Linked DNA regions of Homo sapiens: region 2 is linked to region 1. Evidence: promoter capture Hi-C in human tissues and cell types (Jung and others, 2019). All regions are on one chromosome and are shown on one strand. Each heading gives the region's core, a stretch centred on a gene start or on the middle of the fragment in contact. The rest is flanking DNA. Distances are from core to core; before and after follow the strand shown.

Region 1 (3,315 bases), core at 264-2,763:
CTTGTATTTTCCACTGTAGACATGTTTTAGCCCTTATCTCTTGAAATATATATTATTTTGCTATTTTAAAATTTGTTTCTTGGTTGGGCACAGTGGCTCACACCTGTAATCTCAGCACTTTAGGAGGCCAAGGTGAGAGGACTGCTTGAGGCCAGGTGTTTGAGACCAGCCTGGGCTACGTAGTATAGCTGCTATCTCTACAAAAATAAAAAAAAGGTAAAATTTGTTTCTCCTCTACATTACAGATTATAGCTGAGATATTGTCTTATTTTGCTTGTAGATGGTTTATATTTTCCCTGATTTTCATTGCAGTTAAAACAAACAAAGAGATCTATTCAGCATCTATAAAGCGATGTCGGCACTAATTAAATTGAGAACCACTAACATAATAGATAAACCACTCCAAGATTTCCCGTTTTCCTGTTTGCTTTCCAGGCTGCTGTTGACCATATGCCCACACCAAACACAACCTCATTCCCATTTTCTTTACTTTTCTTTTTCTTTTTTTTTTTTTTTTTTGAGACGGAGTCTTGCTCTGTCGCCCAGGCTGGAGTGCAGTGGCGCAATCTCGCCGGCTCACTGCAAGCTTCGCCTCCTGGGTTCACGCCATTCTCCTGCCTCAGCCTCCCGAGTAGTTGGGACTACAGGTGCCCGCCACCACGCCCGGCTAATTTTTTGTATTTTTAGTAGAGACGGGGTTTCACCGTGTTAGCCACGATGGTCTCGATCTCCTGACCTCATGATCCGCCCGCCTCAGCCTCCCAAAGGGCTGGGATTACAGGCGTGAGCCACCGCGCCCGGCCTCATTCCCATTTTCAAGGATCCTAAGCTTTTTTAAGATCTCAAGCTATTTTCTAGGGACCAGCATGGTATGAATGATAACACATAAAACGTGTAAGGCCCTTAAGAATTGAAATTGTCTCACATGTCATCTAGTTTGATGCTCACGAAAATCCTATAGGGATAACAAATATGTCTTTTTAACTTTTCTTTTTACCAACTTAGTGGATTACAGTGAAAATGAAAACAAAGAGAAAAACCACTTTGCTTATTAAATGACTGAGCTGCTGCCATATCTTCTCTTAGGAGCTTTCAGAGATCCCACAGAGTAAGCCACCAAGATTCTCAAGTAGATAAAACCTTAGAATTTTCTATTTTAAGGTTTATTTTAGCCTCCTGATGTAGAGATGAGAAAACCGAGATCCAAGAAAAGCGACTGGCCACGGTCCTGAGAAATCATATTTCGAAGCAGGGGTGTAGGGATATATGAGATGGTCTGTTCTATTACACTCGCTTTTCTCATCGCAAATTTTAGGTAAAAAGTCTGATGTTCCCAGAGACAAAACCTGACGCTGCAGGCTGGAGTGGCGAGTCCCGCCCCGCGCGCCTCAAGCCCCACCCCCAGGCTGTCCGCGGCAGTGCCTGAGTGGCAACCAGCGCCGGGGACCTCGAGGGGTCCTTTGCGTGGGCTCCCGATGGGCTGCCTGAGCGGGTGCGCGGGCAACTTCCGGTGTGGGTGACGAGTGGTGGCCGAAGCAGGGGGACAGCAAGGGACGCTCAGGCGGGGACCATGGCGGACGGCGGCTCGGAGCGGGCTGACGGGCGCATCGTCAAGATGGAGGTGGACTACAGCGCCACGGTGGATCAGCGCCTACCCGAGTGTGCGAAGCTAGCCAAGGTGAGGAGAGGCCGGCTGGCTGTTGGCGGGCGCCAGGGGCTGAGTCACGGCGCGGAGCCTGCTTAGGCCTCAGGGGGCCTGCGGGCTGGAGCGTGCACCCCCCAATGCCTGTCCAGCCCTAGTTGGGCCTGCACGAGTGGGAGACCCCAGGTCGGCCCGGCCAGGGCTGCGGAGTACGCCAGCGCCTATAGCTTCCCAGACCCTCCCCAAAACAGATGGTCACTTCCCTCCGTGGGACTTAGGGCTCCGTTTAACTTTTTGCCGTTTCTTGGATGCTGTTTAAGTGATATTTACCTTAGTAGTTTCCCAGGGGTTAAGGCCGCTTCAGTATTAAGGCTAGATCAGAGAGTTTCGTTCTGTTGCTGTTGCTCAATCAATTTATGTCGTTACATCGTTTGTGGATCATGGCTATGTGCCTGGTCTTTGGCCAGGAGAAGGGGCAGGAAAGTGATAGTACGAAGATGACTAACACAGGACCCTGTCCTTTAGGAGTTGATGTACGTGATGAATTAGTCAAGTCATGCATGGTGGTGAGGGCCATACAAGGGGAAAGTGTTACTGGAACACCGAGAAGGAAGCTATGCATTCTTAATGGTGCCATAAGGGAAGGTTTTACAGGAAGGCTGACGTTTGTATTGGGTCTTGAGGAATTAGTAAGATTGAGGTGGGGTGGAGTCATTACTGAAGACGGAACTACAGAAGTAAAGACAAGTAGGCACTATAAGAGTTTAACGGGCTTTCCAAGAAACAAGGATGGAGAAAGGTGATAAAGTTGGTACGTATGTATATCTTAGGTTCAGTATGCTTGCTGAGGGGGAGCCACAAATTCATTAAGAGCTTTCTAGCAGCTAGCATCAACAAACATCAGTTACATAAGGGTGGGAAAACTCAGCCGCCTCCAATGCCAGACAGATAACAATAACTGATATTTGTTGAGTAGTTTCTGCAGTGTCAGGCACCGTGCTTACATGCACTAAGCCATTTGATCCTCACCTCAGCCCTATGCGATGGCTATTACTATTATCCTTATTTTACAGGTAAGAAAACTTGGGCTAGAAAAAGTTGAATCACATGCCCCAAGATCATACAGCTAGTAAAGTGGTGAAGCCAAGAAGCAAACCCAGGCAGACCGATTCTAGATTCTGGAGCTGGTGCCCTCACACACCATGCTGTCCTGCCTAGAAGCCTATTGTAGTGAAAACCTGAACTTTTTTTTTTTTTTTTTTTGAGACGGAGTTTCACTTTTTTCACCCAGGATGGAGTGCAGTGGCGCAATCTTGGCTGACTGCAACCCCCGCCTCCCGGGTTCAAACGATTCTCCTGCCTCCGCCTCCCGAGTAGCTAGGACTACAGGTGCCACCACGCCCGGCTAATTTTTGTACTTTTAGTAGAGACGGGGTTTCACTACGTTGGCCAGGCTGGTCGCACGCGACCTCCTGACCTAAAGTGATCCACCCACCTCTGCCTGCCAAAGTGCTGGGATTACAGGCGTGAGCCACCGCGGCTGGCCAAAAACCTGAACTTTCGAGCACCTGCCCAGGAAAAGGAGACGGCAGATCTTCACCTTCAGATAATCTTTGCCAATTGGGGATGAAGGCCGAGTATTGTCGATGCTGCTAATTTGAGGGAGAAACCAG
Region 2 (3,315 bases), core at 589-3,088, 230 kb after region 1:
ACCATGTGTTGTCCAGATTATACAGAATTTAGGTGAGCATTTTAGAAAGAACATTAGGAGTAAATTAGAAAGCACCCAGAGGAGACTTAGGGTAGTGAATGATCAAGACACTGCCATGAGAAAACTAGGATTGTTTGGCCTGGAGAGGAGAAGACTAAAGATTGACATCAGCATTGTATTGAGATTTGTCATAGGGTGAGGGAATAGATATGTTACTATTTGAAGCACGTAAGAAAAAATGATATACACCTAGACTTTCTGTAGACTTCTTTATGAAATCAGCTGTGCGTGCCCTCGTTGGCCAGAGACTGGATGACTGCTTCAACAAAGGGTCCTTGTATTGGGTGGAACCTGGGACTAGATAATTTTAAGGTTGGTTCCAATAGTATCATTAAAAAAAATTTTTTTATGGTGGTAAAATGCGTATGATGTAAAATTGACCATTTTAACCATTTTTATGCACATAAGTTCTGTGGCATTAAGTTCATTTACGTTATTGTGCAACAGTCATCACCATTCATCTCCAGAACTTTTTTGATCTTTCCAAACTGAAACTCTGTATGCATTAAATGCCCCCATTCCTCCTTCCCTCCTGGCAGTCACCCTTCTACATTCTTTCTCTATGAATTTGACTGTTCTAGCTACCTCATATAAATGGAATTATATAGTATTTGTCCTTTCCTGACTGGTTTATTTCACTTAGCATAATGCCTTCAAGGTTCATCCATGTTGTAAGATGTGTCAGAATTTCATGCCTTTATAAGGCTGAATAATCTATTGTATGTATATGCCACATTCTGTTGATCCATTCCTCTGTCCAGGGATACTCGTGTTGCTTCCACCTTTTGGCTATTGTGAATAATGCTGCTATGAACGTGGATATACAGATATCTGTTTGAGTCACTCCTTTCAGTTCTTTTGAGTATGTATGTAAGCATGGAATTGCTGGATCATATGGTAGTTCTCTGCCTAAATTTTTGAAGAACTGCCACACTGTTTTCCACAGCAGCTGTACCATTGGACATTCTCACCAGCAGTGCATAAGGGTTTCAGTTTCTCCACATCTTCGCCAATGTTTGTTATTTAGCAATAACATTTTAAAAAATGCAATGCTTTTATTATATCAGTGGTTCAGAATGACAATCTTAAGTCTTTTCTTAAAAAATTTTCTTTGTAGGAAAGCAATTCAGAGTTTTGTTTCTTAGCACAGTACGTACAAGACATACTTGTAAACATAAACAGACACCAATTAAAAAGAAAGAGCAACTTCTGGAAGATTCCACAGAGGACTTAGATTATGGTTTTTTATCTAACTACAAGCTTCTCAATACTGCCATCACAAGAGCACAATCCCTGGTTGCTGTGGTGGGTGATCCCATTGCTCTGTGCTCTATTGGAAGATGCAGGTAATTATGTGTTAATGTTGAGACATTAAAGGGGAAATGTGACATGATTTGTATCCCTATGTGTATATTTATTCATATGACCTTCTGGCTAATTAAAAACAGGTTTATTGTAGCCTGATATCCAGTGGGAACACAAAAGCATATTACTTTGGATCTATTTATTGTATGCATAATTGTGTATTCATTGAGCCATTATTCAAGAGATATTTCCTGAGTGACTTCTAGGTTCTAAGCACTCTTCCAGCTTCTGAAGATACATGAGTGAACAAAATAGACAAAGATCTCTGCCCTTGTGGGGCTTACATTTTATTGGTGGGGCTTACTTTTTACTGGTAAGGAGAGGAAGATTACCGTAAACTAAATAGGAATATTATATAGTATTTTACATGGTAAGTTGAATGGAAAGGAAAATATTAAGAGGAATTAGGAATGATGAGGACGGTGCAGACTAGCTTGTGATTGTAAATAGCGTGGTGAGAGCAGACCTCACTGAGAAGCTGACTTGGAAGTGAGGGAGAAGCTATTTGGGTTAAAAGTGCTCCAGGAAGAAGCAACAACTAGAGCAGGGGTCCTGAGCTGGTTTCATGCATGTGTTTGTCTTTGATGGATATTAACTTTTATATCCCTTAGTGCCTCACTTTTTCACTTAATTGTTCTAATTTTTGATGAATTTCCTTCTGTAGTCTTGCTCTCTCAAGGCTTCTCAATGTAGATAATTCTTTGTATCTGGTTAATCCAGAAGATCTTAACATTAGGGGGTTAGACGTGGTCATTACTTGTCTTTCGGTAGCATTATTAGTATTCATTAGACTTTAGTTTTAAGGAACAGTTTCTACTAAATATGGTTAAAATATCAACCTACACACCAAAATCTTTCTTTATACACTTGTGACTTATACCAGTTAATTGGAATTTTAACTGTACAAAGCCAGTAATAGAAGATTTGGCCTTTTGAGTGTTGAAGAACTGTGCTAGCATTAAAAAAAAAAAAAGCAGTCGAACAGTTATTTATAATATTCTTTTGTGAAAAAGAAAGAAATACACTAGGGATTACTTAAAATTTTATAAGTGTGCTAGTACCTGTCATAGGAAGTTCAGAATAGTAAAAAGAGATGTAGGTAGTCCTGAATCTGCCTTGGGTAATTATTTCTTTTTGATATGTTAGAATTAAAGTAGACAAAACTATTAGGACATGGCACTCTTTAAATCAGGTTTTTTTTTCTTACAATATAGATAATGACAGCACTTTATTATCTATTTTTGTGTTCTAGCAGGAAGAAAAATTCTGGGAAGGGAGACTATTTGGGACCTTTAAGAATAAGTTTCATATATTAGAATTTAAGACCCCTCAAAAAGTTAATATCCTTTATAGGGGAAAGCTATCATCAAAGGAATCAAGTAGAGTTTTAATTTATGAAAAAAAAATTTCTTTTTTAAAAAACAAAGCTTGAAGGGTCTGTAACTTATTTATCTGTAAACAATTCTGTTGTAACATCTTTAATTTCATACTTTAAAAATATATTGCCATGCATTTGTAGTCACTAATGACAAATTGGAGAGGGGAGAGTATCTTTTTTTTTTTTTGAGACAGAGTTTCACTCTTGTTGCCCAGGCTGGAATGCAATGGTGCAGTCTCGGCTCACCGCAACCTCTGCCTCTTGGGTTCAAGTGATTCTCCTACCTCAGCCTCCCGAGTAGCTGGGATTACAGGCATGCGCCACCACGCCCAGCTAATGTTTTGTGTTTTAGGAAGAGATGGGATTTCTCCATGTTGGTCAGGCTGGTCTCAAACTCCGGACCTCAGGTAATCTGCCTGCCTCAGCTTCCCAAATTGCTAGGATTACAGGCGTGAGCCACCGCGCCTAGTCGAGAATACCTTAATTCTGAGTTACAAATGAATAGAAGAACC

The links. The method cuts DNA at HindIII sites, captures the fragments that hold promoters and counts their contacts. A contact is called where the count stands out against the background at its distance.
Region 2: a contact is called between a fragment that was not itself captured here and the fragment with the promoter of PSMD12 in region 1, in 1 of the 25 tissues and cell types used here (hippocampus).

What each region holds. Positions count from the first base shown.
Region 1 is chr17:67,364,775-67,368,089 of GRCh38, reverse strand. PSMD12 (proteasome 26S subunit, non-ATPase 12) reads left to right here and starts at 1,513. Exons shown (of 11, transcript NM_002816.5): 1 at 1,513-1,678. The coding sequence starts at 1,571. RefSeq lists enhancers at 1,308-1,617, 1,638-1,697. The HindIII fragment of the contact is 13,722 bases long and covers 1-3,315 here.
Region 2 is chr17:67,134,061-67,137,375 of GRCh38, reverse strand. It overlaps HELZ (helicase with zinc finger), which reads left to right. Exons shown (of 33, transcript NM_014877.4): 23 at 1,178-1,406. Among named protein-coding and RNA genes, the nearest start is that of CACNG1, 91 kb to the right of the region's middle. The HindIII fragment of the contact is 3,510 bases long and covers 84-3,315 here.